Regions from separate parts of the Homo sapiens genome. Here all the other regions are linked to region 1. The links are contacts of gene promoters, found by promoter capture Hi-C in blood cells and fetal thymus (Javierre and others, 2016). All regions are on one chromosome and are shown on one strand. The core of a region is centred on a gene start or on the middle of the fragment in contact, and the rest is flanking DNA. Distances in the headings are between cores, read along the strand shown. Region 1 holds the start of PTPN12 (protein tyrosine phosphatase non-receptor type 12). Region 2 overlaps CCDC146 (coiled-coil domain containing 146). Region 3 holds the start of TMEM60 (transmembrane protein 60).

Region 1 (4,950 bases), core at 1,671-4,170:
TCTCCAATAGGAATCCCTGACTCATCCCCAAAGCATGAACCCTAAGGCCACTTCTCCAGTACAGGAGTTCAGAGGCTGGGCAACCTGTCCTGATGGCCCGCATCACCAAACAATGCTCCTTCCTGACGGTATATGCCTAGGGATAACAAGGTGACTAGCATGCAAACAAGAAATGACCAGGGACCACACCATCTCTTCTTCCATAACCAAAGTAAGACGGTAAAAAACTAGTTTTAGGCCGGGCATGGTGGCTCACGCCTGTAATCCCAGCACTTTGGGAGGCCAAAGCAGATGGATCACTTGAGATGAGGAGTTCGAGAGCAGCCTGCAAATATGGCGAAACCCCATCTCTACTAAAAATACAAAATTAGCAGGGCGTGGTAGCTTGCGCCTGTAGTCCCGGCTACTTCGGACAAAAATTAGCCGGGCGTGGTGGCACGTGCCTATAATCTCAGCTACTCAGGAGGCTGAGGCAGGAGCATCGCTTGAATCTGGGAGGCAGAGGTTGCAGTGAGCTGAGATTGCGCCGCTGCACTCCAGCCGGGGCGACAGAGCGTAGAGCGAGACTCCGTCTCAAAAAAAAAACCAACCAACCAACCAACCAAACAACAAAACCCAAAAAAACTAGTTTTAAACATCTTAAATATTCAAAGTATTTTCTTCTACTTTTGCTAGAAAGTAGTAAAAAAGGGACTCCATCCAATTGCTGTAAATGACACCATTCAAAAGATACCAAGACAATAAAAACTCTCAATAGTAAAAAGGGAAAATGCCGTTTTCCTTAACCCTTTCAGATCAAAAAGTAATTTTTCAAAAATACATAGGCTAAATATCAAGAGCAAATGTTTAAATATAAGCAATATTTTTATTTTTAATAAGGAATAAGTTAGATTATTTAACTTATATTTTCAATCTTCAAAAGATACTGAGAAAACTTTACTTCCGTCCTCTATTATTGGTCTGGGGAGGCGGGAATCACAAAGCTCAACGATGCTAGTATAATACTGTGTATGGTCAAGGGCCTATTTTATAAGCTGTTAAAAATTTAACGCTAAAGCTTTACTAGACCAGTCTCTTTAAAACGTGAAAAAGTATTCACTACTAAGTCATATCACCTCCACCATAAAAACTACTGTACTTTTTAAACAAAAAATAAAAACTAGCCAATGTTTGCTGCCCATTCATTTTACAGGCATTAACTGTGTATCCTTCTCATAATCAGATTTCAGAATTAAGTGATTATTCTTCGAGGTGTACCTTACCCAAGATAAAAATTTTCCCCAGCTTATTTCCCATTCCCAACCCCCGCCAAGACTAAGGAGCAACCACTTCCCAAAGTCCCACTTCCTTTTTCATTCCCCAGACCTACAGGGTTTCCAACGCCCCAGTCTTGCGCAATATCCGTAGGAGCAGCAGCCGCAACCACCGCCTCCTAAGCCGGGAAACAACCCTAGAGGGAACATTGTCCAGCAGAAAAATAAAAAGGGCGGGGGTTGGGGGGGTGGGTAACGTAGGAAGTCGACTTCTGGTCTCACGCCTTCGGATCTGACCCCCTCACAGTGTGCTAAAGCAATAGTGTATCTAGAGCAATTTCATGAACAAGACTTTTAACCTTCACCTCCTCTCAAGACTGCCTGCACAAGCAGAGGGCGGAAAGTAGGGGGTGGCGGAGGCGGGGGGGCGCTGGGAAGGTTATCTCCCAGTTCAGGGCTTCGGCCCGTAGCGTCGCCTCCGCCCCACCAGGACTATTGTTCCCAAGTTCCCCACCCCCACCCCGGATAGGAAGTGATAGTCACATCCCCTCCGCCTTCGGCAATATCCCCTGGGGAGTCCGAAGTCGGCTGGCTTCCTTCAGGATAATTCCCCCACCCACACTTATCCCCTGAACCTATAGTCACACGGACCCCAAGACCACCTCAAACCTGGGCCTCAGGAGAGGAGAAGCGGGACGCGGGTAAATGGAAATTAGGTAAACCCATGAGATTCCTTATGGGCAATCCTTTCCCAAGCGTTGGAGATCATGACTGCGACCCCAGAAACGGCCTAAGTCCTACCCTGCCCGCTTTGAGACCAGCTAGAGCAAAGGGATCCCAGGAGTTAGTGCCAACCTCAATACCCCCGTTCCTCTGTCAGCCACGATCTGCACTCCTCCCGGTCACAGCCAGATACCTTGCCTCGACCCTCCTGGGAGGAGCGAACTGCGCGGGGAGGTGTGGAAACGCGAGCCCCCCCCCCCGGCCTGCACCTCACTTGCCTACGGCTCCCGGCCCGGTAAACAATAGGTGGTCGCGAGCCACGGTGCAGGCTGCGGGCTCGGCCGCGCGGCCGCTCCCTTCGCGTCCCGGGAACCCGCGCGGGGGTCGCGAACATGGGAGAAGAAAGGAGGCCACGGGGGGAGGCGCTCTCGCCTCCCGCTGGCCTCCGAGACCACCCGGCTCACCCGGCTGGTGCGCGCCCCCTCCGCCCCTCTCCTCACAGAGGTACACAAAGCACTGGCGGCCCGGCCGGGAGAGGCGGCGATGGGCTCCGGCGCCGGCAAGAAAACGCGACAGCGAGGGGAGAGACTCACCATGAAGTCCCGGGCGAAGTTGTCCTCCCCATTGTGGTCAGGACTCTTCATGGCCTGGACCCTCTGGATGAATTTCCTCAGGATCTCCACTTGCTCCATCCTCCCGCGTCCCCCCGGCTGCGGTCGCTGGCCCCCCCGCCGCCCGCCCGCCCGGCACAGAGCCCGCTCCGTCTTCCCCAGCTCGTTCCCCCAGCACGTCCCTCCCTCCCGACCCCGCCAAGCCCCGCGGCTCCCTCCTCCTCCCCACCGCCCTAGGCGGCGGCTGCGGCGGCACCGGCTGGGCTCCCGACACCACAACTTCCAGGAGCAGCCGCCGCTCTCCCACAGTACCAGGCGAGCCGCTGCGCTAGCGCCAACCCCAACCCCCAGCTTGCTCCATCCTCCTTCCCCGCCCTCCTCCTCCGTCGGAGACGCCGCCGCCGCCGCCGCCGCCGCCGCCGCCTCAGGAACACAGCTAGCTCTCCGCTCGCCCTGCCCCCCCTTCCCGGTTCCTCCTCCCCCCCACCCCCCGCCAGCAGCCGCAGCCGCAGCCGCAGCCGCCTCTCCCCACGGGCGCGTCCCCGCCGCCACCCAGATGCGCGGCCTCGCGCTGCGGCTCCGCCCCAAGCGCTGCGCCCGCAGATGCATCCCCGCCCGCCTCCCGGCCACGCCCCCAAGCCCGCCCCGCCGGCCCCAGCCCCGCTTGGAGTGGCTGGAAGGCACTTCAGCGGGCGGCCTGGAGACCTGACTCCATTTCCGGGGCGTGGCCCCGCCCGGGGTGCTCAGAGGTCGGAGTATCGCTGGGAGGAGAGTTGGTTCATTTGGAGGAGGGAATGCGACTCTGAGCGGGCCAAGCCCTAGTGGGTCAGAGTAGGATTCTGATGGAATTTGCGGTCTCACCGCCTACTAGGGAGGAAAAGCAGTTTTCAGGAGTCCCGCACCGCCGCCAGCCGTGGGCTGGGACTACAAGTCACGGTCTGTGGAGTCCAGGAGTGGGGGCGGGCGGGAGGCAGGCTGGGAGCTGTAGTAGTGTCACCGCCACGTTCGCAGCAGGTAGATGCTCATCTTGCTAACGGATTGGTGAGAGTGGACAGCAATTAGGCTTTGGCACCTTGGAGCGTGGCTCCAGCTAAGGGAAGCGAAACGCTTCCTGGGTGAGAGGACTTTTATTCTTTGCTCATCCTCTTAAACCTGGCGAGTGAGCGCCTGAGGTTCGGAGTGCCTTCTTCACAGACGACGCGAATGTGGGGTCTTCGTGTTTGCCGAACTGAAGGGAATTTGCCTTCCTGCCTTTAGGTTCGCAGCAGTTCATAACTGAATAAGAGACTTTCCTCCATAGAATGGACTTTATAAATCTATTAATTTTTTTTTTTTTTTTTTTTTAGAGCTAAGGTCTTGCTCTATCTCCCATGCCAAAGTGCAGTGCTATGATCACGGCTCGCTGCAGCCTTGAACTCCTGGGCTCAAGGCATCCTCCTGCCTCACTACGTCACCAAGCCCAGCTAATACATTTTAAAAATTTATTATTTATTTATTTATTTATTTTTGGTAGAGAAGGGGGTCTCACCAGGTTGCCCAGGCTGATCTCGAATTCCTGTGCACTAGGGATCCTCAGCTTCCGAAAGTGTTGGGATTTTAGGCGTGAGCCACCGCGCCTAGCCTATAAATCTTTATTCATCTTTGTAAACTTCTATCAGAGAATATATTCTGGTCTAACTCATCATTTTACAAATAAAGCGACTTCCTGACATCCCCCAGCGTATTCTTAGCAGAGCCGTAACTAGAAGTTATTTTACTTTCACAACAGTGGCCTCTCACAATGTGACAGAACTGAAGGATTTGATCCATGAACTGACTTTCGTCATTTATACCCACAAACCTTTTTTTACAGAGCAGATTGGTCAGCGAATTTGGTTATAATAGGAAATATCAGTGGTAGAATACTTTCTCAGATGAAAGTTAGGAGCACTATGGAATTTAGTGAAAAACTCATTGAAGAAAATAGGTGTAGGCCGGGCGCGGTGGCTCACGCCTGTAATCCCAGCACTTTGGGAGGCCGAGATGGGAGGATCACCTGAACCCGGGAGGCGGAGGTTGCAGTGAGCTGTGATCACACCATTGCACCCCAACCTGGGCGACGGGAGTGAGGCCCTGTCTCAAAAAAAAAAAAAAGAAAAGAAAATAGGTGTAACAGGATATAGTTTATTTACTTCTTCAAAAAAAGGAAAATATTTCTGTTAAAATAATCCAACTAATACATCCACTCCAGAAATATGCACTTCAGACCAGGTGCAGTGGCTCACACCTGTAATCCTAGCACTTCGGGAGGCCGAGTTGGGTGGATCACTTGAGGTCAGGAGTTCGAGACCAACCTGGCCGATATGGTGAAACCCTGTCTCTGC
Region 2 (4,950 bases), core at 505-3,004, 270 kb after region 1:
ATAAGGTTTTGTGGAGCACAGTTAAAAGCACAACTTTGTATGAACGCTTCTTAGATAGAAGCTTAAATGAGCATTGATATTAACCTGTTGGGCCAAATTCCTCTTAGCTACTTCAACTTCCTTGTGAAGCTCTCGCCTTCTCTCAGATAATGTAGAATCATCTTTGGGGATAGCTTCCATCTGGAAATCAAAATTTAAAAACATGCATTTATGTAAGAAATAAATCTTTGGGAGGCTGAGGCAGAGAATTGCTTGAACCCGGGAGGCAGAAGTTGCAGTGAGCTGAGATCGTGCCACTGCACTCCAGCCTGGGTGACAGAGTGAGACTCTGTCTGAAAATAAATAAATAAATAAATAAATAAATAAAATTCACTGCTGTGTAGTCAACCTCATCACACACTTTTTGAAAATGCTGAGCAAATCACGAATCTCAATCTTATAAGAACTTCCCTTTATGCCAAATATTCTTTATAAGCCATGGCAAATTAAAATATGAAGACCTGCCAAAAATCTATAATTTGCCAGCTGCAAATGTTTATTATTTAGAAATAAATCTTACTAATAGCTAACATTTATTGAACATAAACCAAGTGTCCAGCAAGGTTCTAAATGCCTGTGTATACGATCTTATTTCATCATTACAATACCCCTCATGAGGTGGGGAATATTTTCTCCAATTGTACAGATGAAGAGAATGAGGCACAAACACATTTAAGCAACTTGCCTCAATGGTGCAGGTGTAAACCCAGGGAGGTAGACTTGGAACCCATGATCTGCCTAACTCATCTAACTCATGACCCAGCACTTTGGAGACATGAATATACTATGACTATTCAAATTATAGTTATTATAAAATGTGAGTACATTTATGAAATTGTATAGGATAAAGAAAAATATGTAATTTATTAATAATAGTGGGGATAGTTTGCTACTTATATATAGTCATTTGATTAGTAGCTGGAAATTTCTTACACAAAAGAAAAGCCTCAACTTTTTGGTTGATACCTAAAATTTCACCATTACATTTCTGTTGTAACGGCTTGCACTTTTCTCCTGTGTTGACGTACTTTAGGGAAAAGGCAAATCTCACTCTTTAAGTCTTTGTTGCCCTATTAGGAATGAGCTTGTCAGATTCTTTGTGATGAAGACGAGAGTAGAGAGGAGGACATGTGGCAGCTGATGGGGAAAGGGTACCATTCAAGGCTACAGGGAGGGTCATCTTGGGGTGCTTCCAGCCTACTTGACTTAGAGCAAGTTTAGAGTTGGCTATTTACACCAAAAGCTCATGACTCCAATCTGATGTGGTTCAGTTCCTACTGTGACAGCACACACTTGTAGGCCCTAAGGTTGAATAATGGCCAAAATTTAGACCCAAGAAAGGAATATCACACTGTCTAGTGATTTGAAGGTTACTTAACAGGATCTTTTTGAGGATCATGCTGCTATGTTAAAGTCACTAAAGTGTGTCTTTGGATGCCCCATCATCCATGAATCAGGGTATCTTCAGTAGCACCTTCTGTACCCTCAGGTGTCCATGTCCTGCTTTTCCATTGGGTCTCCTACCCTGGAGCACTAGCTCTTGAGATGCACACACTGGACTTAGGAAAACGAGATGTGGTCTTGTGAAACATGTCTGACAATATACAGAATGTTGTGGGCTTAACAAACATAAAATTGCTATAGCAGATCAGAAAAGGGAGAACTCAGTATAGAATTGAATAATTGGGAAAGCCTTCCTGGAAGATGTGAATATTCATCAAGGAAGTGTTGATTTCTCCTTTAGGAAAGTCAAGTTAAGACCTCCTGGATAGAGGAACTCCAGCAAACATCCTGGGTCCCTGTCTGATTCTCTGCTACAGGTGTGCCTGGAGTGGGCTGTCCTCATGCTCAGCTCCCGGGTGTCGGCAGATGTAAACGTGAATAACAGGGCCCAGGAACCCTTATGAGGTTTCGACAGAAAATATGATGAGAACACACTCACTAGCTACTATGTCAACTAAAGGCTCTCGACAGATTTTTCTGGCTTGAGGTCTAGACACTTTGGTTATTTCCAATATTTTGAAACACAAACAATACTTCAATAAATTGTATTCATTTTTGAACTCTGGCTACTGCTTCTCTGATACCATTTTAAATTCTCTGTAAAGCCCAGCTCTCTAGTTTCAGGCAGGAATTAGGTAGGCTTGGCTTGTGGAAGAGGTGACATGATAAGCCATTGGTAGCAGAGCCTCCTGGTTGCCTAGCCAATAGCTACCCTCCACCTTGATCTTAGCAACTCTATTAGTCAGGGTTCTTTGTATCTCCATATATATATATATATATATATATATATATATATATATATATATATATATATATATCTCCTATTAGTGTGTGTGTATATATATATATATAAAATAAAAAGGGGAGTTTATTAAGTATTAACTCACAGGATCACAGGGTCCCACAATAGGCCATCTGCAAGCTGAGGAGGAAGGAAAGCCAGTCTGAGTCCCAAAACTGAAGAAACTTGGAGTCCGATGTTCGAGGGCAGGAAGGGTCCAGCACGGGAGAAAGATGTAGGCTGGGAGGCTAGGCCGGTCTCTCATTCACATTTTTCTGCCTGTTTATAGTCTAGCCACACCGGCAGCTGATTAGATTGTGCCCACCCAGATTAAGGGTGGGTCTGCTTTCCCCAGCCCACTGACTCAAAGGTTCATCTCCTTTGGCAACACCTTCACAGACACACCCAGGATCAATACTTTGTATCCTTCAAGCCAATCAAATTGACATTTAGTATTAACCACGACAGCAACAGAATGCTGTTTTTTTTTTTTTTTTTCCAGAGCTGCAATGTATCCAGGAGTCCTCACACTTCTTTGCAGCTGGGGGTGCCCATATGAGCTAAGACAAGCCAATGAAATGTAAGTGGAAGTCTGTGAGGAGGGGTCCTGGGAAAGTGGCTGTTTTCCTGTTAAAAGGAGCTGGCCAAGCCAGCAATCATTTATGTCTTTTGCTCGTTGCCCTTCCTCCTCCTTTTGCCAGTTTATGCTTAAGGTGGAATAGCCATTTTCTGACCATGGAGAAACAATGTACACACTAAGGTTGACTGAAAGGGGAGCTAAAAGGATCCTAGACTTTTCATTATGTGAAATAACCGGTTGTGCCTACCTGTGCTCTTTTTATTAAGTGAGTAAAACAACTCCCTATTTAGCAAAATCATTATAGTTGAGTTTCTATTACTCATTGAGGCCAAATTGCAAACCTAACCTAATAGGTGTTTCTCTTGAAAGGAAACCTTCCCAAGGTAATCTGGAAAATAGGCTGGAGTTAGACTGAAGTCTCCATTAATGTGGGAGGAAAATAACTATCAAGTATCAAAGTTCTAACTACATGGTCTGGAGTTACTTGAGATATTTTCCATTTCTTTTGAGCCCCAAACTGCATATATCAGGTTTTGTAAGCTTATGATAGTTCTTTTAGTTTTTATAGTGTAGCATTTCACATTTAAAAATGTATTTATTGTGATTGTGACCAAACAACAGAAATGTGTAAAGTAAAAAAAAAAAAAAAATCTGCTTCCTACCTCTGCTGCTTCAAGTACTACTCCCCAGGAGTCACTATTAATAGTTTTGGTGTCTGTTCTTCCAGGCATTTTCAATGCATGAATAATCATCGGTAACTTTCATAAAAGTTAAGAAATTAGACATTACTTGTTGCTGTAAATATCCCAATTATTTGATATCAGTGAACCTCAGCTTAACACTTTGATATTTTTCTAAAGCATTCCAACCTTTCATGAGGCTTGTACCTTGAGTTTCTGGGAGAGTCTCTATGTACAAGTCAAACGCCATAGGAGAATCAAACAACTGTCTCTGGGGGGAAATACATTCTGAAGAATAGCTAGAGCTCTTCATGTTTACCTTTTATCTCTTTTAGTTTTGGATTGCATGCAAGTCTGAAAAAATGTTCACTTGGGCTGGGAGTGCCTGGCCTGACCCACTCCTGTTTTCAAGTACTGCCAGCTGTGGGCAGTGGCTGGGCTAATTATAAATCACAGGGTCAAAGAGGAAGTTAGTCTCTCACTGAAACTGTACTAGAACAAAACCAGATTTTTCTTAAAATCAACAAAGGAAAAGGATTCTAATACACTTTAATTTCTGTTAGTTTTATATTCTATGGGTGCTTAGTTTTATATTCAATGGGTGCTATTTTGTGGACTTAATAGCTAGTAGTGTCATAATATAAATAGCTTTTATAATATTTGTTAAAATCTGAACAACTTGTGCGCATTCCACTGCAAACTCCTCTTCGGTCAAAGGCCATGCCTCACATATTTTGTGTCCAGTCAGATCAAACTACAGTGACAAGCCTCACCATCACAGACAGCTTCCAATTAGATTTATAGCAGCCCATGCTTAAATATAAGCAGATAGCCAAGAATTACCATATATTGGAGGAAAGTTTCTAAAAAGAAAGAGACAAAAACAAAAAAAGAAAAATACAGAAAAAACACGGAGAAAAAGTCTTATTTAGGAAAAGAAGAAGAAAAAGAAACCATCATTAATAGCCTCAATGAGATAAGAGATTAAAGATACTATGAAAAAGAAACATCCAGAGAACAAAGAGAGCACAAGGAAATATAAAGTATGATAGCATAATGAAAGAGTAGAAGGGTTGAAAGGAAAACTTGAGGAAATTTCTCTTTTAGCAAGTCAAATGACAAAAAAGAAAGGAAAATAAAAGAAAAAAGAAAATTAGAGGACTGTTTTAGAAGGTCCAACATCTGCGTAAAAGGAATCCAAGACAGAATAGAGAAAATCAAATGGACAAAATTAAATAATCCAAGACAAAGTATCAGAACTTTGGAAGGACATATACTTCCATAGACAGAGAACCCATTCAGTGCCCCACACGATGGATACAATGGGAACATCATTGTAAAATGTAAAAATTCTGGAGGCAAGTAAG
Region 3 (4,950 bases), core at 1,106-3,605, 260 kb before region 1:
CTAAAATGATTAAATAATATACAAGTAGTCCAACTATTTTCGAGTTTCATTTTATCCACATGACACCCTAAATTCTCTTCAGTTTAGTGAAGGTTTTTTTCATTACATATTCCTTGCAATTTTGCATTAAATGGACCAGCCAAAAAAAGTTCATGGTTTAAAAATTGGGTGGGCCACCTTCTTCATTTTTAGGGCCAACTGTCCAGTGCCAGTTTGGGCTCAAAAAAAGTTTACTCTTGGAGGCTTGACTATCTATGCAAGAGTGCCCCCATTGTATACTATACTTGTTTACTCACCACATTTTCATGCTCCACCAGAAAGTGGTCAAAATTGGAACACGAAAACTCTCCACCTCACTAACACCTAACTTAAAACTATCAGATGCATTCAGACAGCCAGTCTGTGTGGGAGGCAGGCTATTTCTGGGGCAAAAATATTTCCTGGAACCACTGTTTCTGGCCCCAGACATGGCTCATTCTCCGCAGACCTCCAGATTCCTCTCCTCTACGTTATGGAGGTGGAGCCACTACAACTGATAACGCATATCCATTTCCTTCTCTTAAAATTTGCAGTCCATACACCATATCCAAGTTAGGATTTCAAATTGTTATACTGTTTTGTGACTCTTTAGGCTAAAGTGTGCAGTTTCCAGACTTTCAGAATTCCCCTTCCAATATTAAAAATATGGTGAAAAAAGCCCAGTTTGAAAGAAAATAAACTTTACAAAAATACCTGAAAACAAGATCAAATACTAAGTCTCTTGCCAAAGTCTTGGAGAAAAAAAAAATGAAAGAAACGTTTAAAAATGGCAAAAGCTAACCAAAAACCTTAAGATTAAAGTATCACACCTGAAAAGTAGTCTCAAAGCAAGGAGGATATACTATTAACAAAGAAAGCAACCGAAAACTACAAAATATTTAATATTCACCATGAATTTCAAAATTACTTGGCATGTAAAGTACACACTGAGATTAATAAATTGTTCCAGATTCTGCACTGCCCAGGTTAGTATAAGGCAGTTCCTTGTTTTCGCCACGCTAAAAATAAGAAGGGTGACAGATTAGTGACAGAATGATCCCTGAAGTTACACAAGGAGGTGCTGAGTTAGAAAGCCATGACTCGAAGGACAATACCAGAATGCTGGCTGTCAACACTGGGCAGATAAAAATAAGAAAAGCTGAAGCATGCTGATGGAGCACGGTATTGTTTCCAGACGGGAACTATCCCTTAAGGCCCATGCCTTAAGCACCCACTCCGCCGTGTTGGGATCAGAAAACTCGACTGCCGCCTGCTCAGAGGGGGCAGGGCAGCGACCCTCCTTCCACCTCCTCCAGCGCGCGAGCCGCCGCCCCCTCCCGAGCCCGCTCCTCCGGCCGCTAGCTGACATCTCCCCGCCAGCCGGGCTAGCCACCCGAGACCCCTGAACGCCCTTCCAGGACCCGACGACCCCTCAGCACAGCGCCAAGGGAAGGAAGCAAAGGACAGGGGCCTGGAAGCGGGGCCCGAGGGGCGGGTGGCGCGCTGGGCTTCGGCCCGTCACCATCAAGACTTGAGGACCGCGCGAGCTCGGGAGGAAGGCGGCTGAGCCTCCGCCACCGGCCGACTGATGAGAAGGGGTCGCGGCTGACCCCGGCCCTCAGGTACGGGAGACTGCCGGGAAAGTCGCCGGCGACGGAGGGCGACGCGTTGGCCCCGGAGCCCCCACCTCCATCCCGACGACCGCTCTCCTCCCTCGTCCCGATCCATCCTCGAAATTCTGTCAGAACTCGACGACCTCCACACTGCCCACCCGAGCGCGGAGGTGATGCCGCTCTTACCGTAGGAGCGAGCGCCGCGCCGCTAGGAGGCGGCTGAGGTGCGCGCGGGAGACTCCGAAGCTAGCGCCGCCGCCAACAGAGCCCAAGGAGCCACAACGAGGCTGCCCGCGGGCGCGCTGCCTCCAGAGGGTTGCCCCACCCCCTCTCCCGCAGGATTTTGCGCCGGAGCCTGCAGTCACTGCGCGCGGGCAGGGAGGATGGGAGGAGGGGCGGGGCGTCCCGAGAGGGCGGAGCTGAGCGCCGGCTGCTCTGATTAACATCTGTGGGCCCAATGGGAGCACGGAAACTCCAGGCTGATCTTGGACTGACTTCCCTACTAACCCGTGACAGTAGAGAGGCGGGACCAATGGGTCTTTTTATTGCCGCCTTTCTGTCGAACCCGAAAGTAAGGAAAGGTCGGTTGGTTTGCACTGGCGGACAAATGGTCCAATTACCGCGGAAAAGGGACCTCTGAATCCAGATTGGCGTCCTCTCTACCTATAGGGTAGGCTCAGGGGCGGTGAGAACCAGCCCCGGATGTGGGCGCGGCACTGAGGTAGAACTGAGAGATCCTCTACCGCAGTCGTTTGAGGAGGCGGAACTGAAGTTTTTTCTTAATTATCATGTGACGGGTTCTGGATTTAATGGGGGGAAAAGGGCGGAAAAGGACAAGGATCCAAACTGGCGAATTTGCTGATCTTCGCGTCCCTCTCCGCTTTCCGGCCGGCAGCGCTGCCAGGTGAGTCTGGGGCTCTGCCCTAGCCCGCACCGTACGCCGGCGCTGGTCTCCTGATGCTTCCGTGGGCTGTGCGGCCGACCCTCAACCCATCACACAGCCAGCCCCAAACGCGCACACGCCTGCTTGGCTCCAGGGCTTCTGTGCGCATCCAGCAGGAACCGTGTTAAACTCCAGCATGTGCTGGGCTTACAGCCCATGAAAGGGGAGCGTCCCGGTGGGGCGCCGCGAGCCGACTGTCGGTGTTTGCAGAAGGGCAAGTATAGTTTAGGAGCGTCCTGAAGTTCCAGGGGCAAATAGGCCCCCAGATGAGCTAAGTTGTAAGCAGAACGCTGTTCCTTTGGCCAAGGCTGTTGCTGCACGGGCTTTTCAAAAGCGACTCATTATGAAGAAGAATAAATATGTGGGCTCATGAAGCAAAATTATCTTTGGGATGAGGCAGGTTCACTTGGTAGACTACTGGCAGTGGCGAGAGAAGGGAAATGGGGGCTGATACCCAGCCGTGGGCTATGTGGGTGGGGCTCTATATATGTCCATACAGGGGTAACTCCGAAGGTTTTAAAAATGAGTAAGGAATCATTAACAAATATTTAACTGTCTTCCTAGTGCCAGAAATAACCACCTTAAATGGGAAACATTTTAGTTGAGCACATTTTTGGAGTACGCACCTCCCCCTTTCTTGTGGAGAGAATAGTAGGAAACATAACGACTGCTCAAATTGATGAAGACGTAAATGTAAAACTGGGATCGTATGTCATCGTTGTAGCTCAGCATACAGGCGTACAATCCTTCAATCGTCATTTAAGTATCAGCAGTGCTTCCCCATTGAGGGTATTTCCGTGCAAGAACATAACAGAATTTTGTTGCATCCCACATTATAAATCTTGTAGGCACAATAAGATTGTTACTTGCATCCTTTCACCTCCAGCCCTAAAGCACCTGTGGTAAGTACAGCCAAATGTAAGAAAAAAATGAAGCTTGTCTTATCCGATAGCAGATGGAACAGTTAGGTTTAAGCAAGTGTATAATCATAAACCGTTTTTCAGAGGTTCACAAAAACGGCCTGATAGATTGGAGGTGGGGATTGTGCAATTTACGGGATGAAATCCATCCATGGTTATTAATCAACACACACCCCTCCAACCCTGCTTCCAAATTCAGTCCCACATCCCACTCTATGGCAGCCTCTGGCCGGGAAAGGAAACCAACACAGAAAAATGCCTCCTTAGAAGCAAAATTACTGCAGTATGAAGCCTTTGCCAATTAAGTAAACAAGTTTAAGTGCCACTAGATGGGTATAAGGGAAAAGAGGTGAGTTAGGAGACTAATACTTAACTGTTGAAATAGAACAGATGTGTCCTCTTGCACTGTGATAGCCACCCACTATTTAAAGTAGTAGAGATGTTGCACAGTACATCAAAGTTAGTTCTAAAATATAATTGAGCACGCTAATCTAGGGTATTTGGCTCAATTAGCCAGTTCCTTCACCTTTTCCCTGTTATCTTCCTGCATCTTTCCTCCTACCACGCATGCTTTTGTTCCTATCCCTAGCACCTTCTGATCTTTTTCTCTTTCCATCAAGTATCCTCTCTCATCTTCAGTGTCATTCCCCATTGGCTTATTTCTGTTTATAGTCATAAATTCTTCCTTTCCTGAAAATTTCTTCTTTCAGTTTCATATACCCTATCTTTCATTTTTCTCTTCTCCAAATGCCTCAAAGGAATAAAATGTTCTCAATTGTTTCCATTTCTTGGTCTTCTGTTAACTCCTTACCCAGCTGCATGCAGTCTGGCTTCTGATTTCCCATTCTACTTATCCTTTTTCCAAGTGGCCATAAAGGTTGGTATAAAAAACTTAAGTAGAGGAACATATCATAAACCTATATGTGAAGATTAAATATAATAAATGCTATCCCAAGCTAAGTTTTATGCATTCATAATCAAAATTCTAGGTTTTCAAGAATCAGCAAATTTAGCATTGAAAAACTGTAAGGGCAAAATAGAAAATATTCTAGAAAAGAGGCCGGCGTGGTGGCTCAAACCTGTAATCCCAACACTTTGGGAGGCTGAGGTGGGTGGATCACTTGAGGTCAGGAGTTCGAGATCAGCCTGGCCAACATGGTGAAACCCCATCTCTACTAAAAATACAAAAACTAGCTGGGCGTGGTGGCGCACACTTGTAATCCCAGCTACTTGGGAAACTTAAGTGGGAGGATCACTTGAACCCGAGAGGCAGAGGCTGCAGTGACCTGAGATCGTGCCACTGCACTCCAACCTGAGTGACAAGAGTGAGACTCCGTCTCAAAAAAAAAAAAAATTCTAGAAAAGAGAACAACGAGTAGATACTAGGCCTTCCAGATATTAATACATTCCTAGAGCAACACTAAGTCATATAGTATTAGTGCAAAAGAGAAACATA

The links. Contacts are between HindIII fragments. The CHiCAGO score rates a contact against its expected background, and 5 or more counts as called.
Region 2: a fragment that was not itself captured here is called in contact with the fragment with the promoter of PTPN12 in region 1 in 9 of 17 cell types (monocytes, total CD8 T cells, total CD4 T cells and 6 more); the score reaches 11.9 in monocytes.
Region 3: a contact is called between the fragment with the promoter of TMEM60 here and the fragment with the promoter of PTPN12 in region 1, in 14 of 17 cell types (fetal thymus, neutrophils, non-activated CD4 T cells and 11 more). The highest score is 20.7, in fetal thymus.

What each region holds. Positions count from the first base shown.
Region 1 is chr7:77,535,265-77,540,214 of GRCh38, reverse strand. PTPN12 (protein tyrosine phosphatase non-receptor type 12) reads right to left here and starts at 2,920. Exons shown (of 18, transcript NM_002835.4): 1 at 2,570-2,920. The coding sequence starts at 2,668. LOC124901681 (a long non-coding RNA gene) reads left to right here and starts at 3,266. Exons shown (of 3, transcript XR_007060395.1): 1 at 3,266-3,844; 2 at 3,934-4,950. RefSeq lists enhancers at 1-247, 3,401-3,620, 3,791-3,840 and silencers at 2,381-2,430, 2,571-2,780, 3,031-3,330. The HindIII fragment of the contact is 6,799 bases long and covers 1,060-4,950 here.
Region 2 is chr7:77,268,924-77,273,873 of GRCh38, reverse strand. It overlaps CCDC146 (coiled-coil domain containing 146), which reads right to left. Exons shown (of 19, transcript NM_020879.3): 10 at 85-180. All of the region lies in intron 2 of LOC102723791 (a long non-coding RNA gene), which reads left to right. Among named protein-coding and RNA genes, the nearest start is that of CCDC146-AS1, 23 kb to the right of the region's middle. RefSeq lists a silencer at 2,098-2,280. The HindIII fragment of the contact is 3,382 bases long and covers 64-3,445 here.
Region 3 is chr7:77,795,839-77,800,788 of GRCh38, reverse strand. TMEM60 (transmembrane protein 60) reads left to right here and starts at 2,355. Exons shown (of 2, transcript NM_032936.4): 1 at 2,355-2,535. PHTF2 (putative homeodomain transcription factor 2) reads right to left here and starts at 2,016. Exons shown (of 19, transcript NM_001395272.1): 1 at 1,818-2,016. RefSeq lists a silencer at 1,936-2,075 and an enhancer at 2,486-2,595. The HindIII fragment of the contact is 8,213 bases long and covers 1-3,511 here.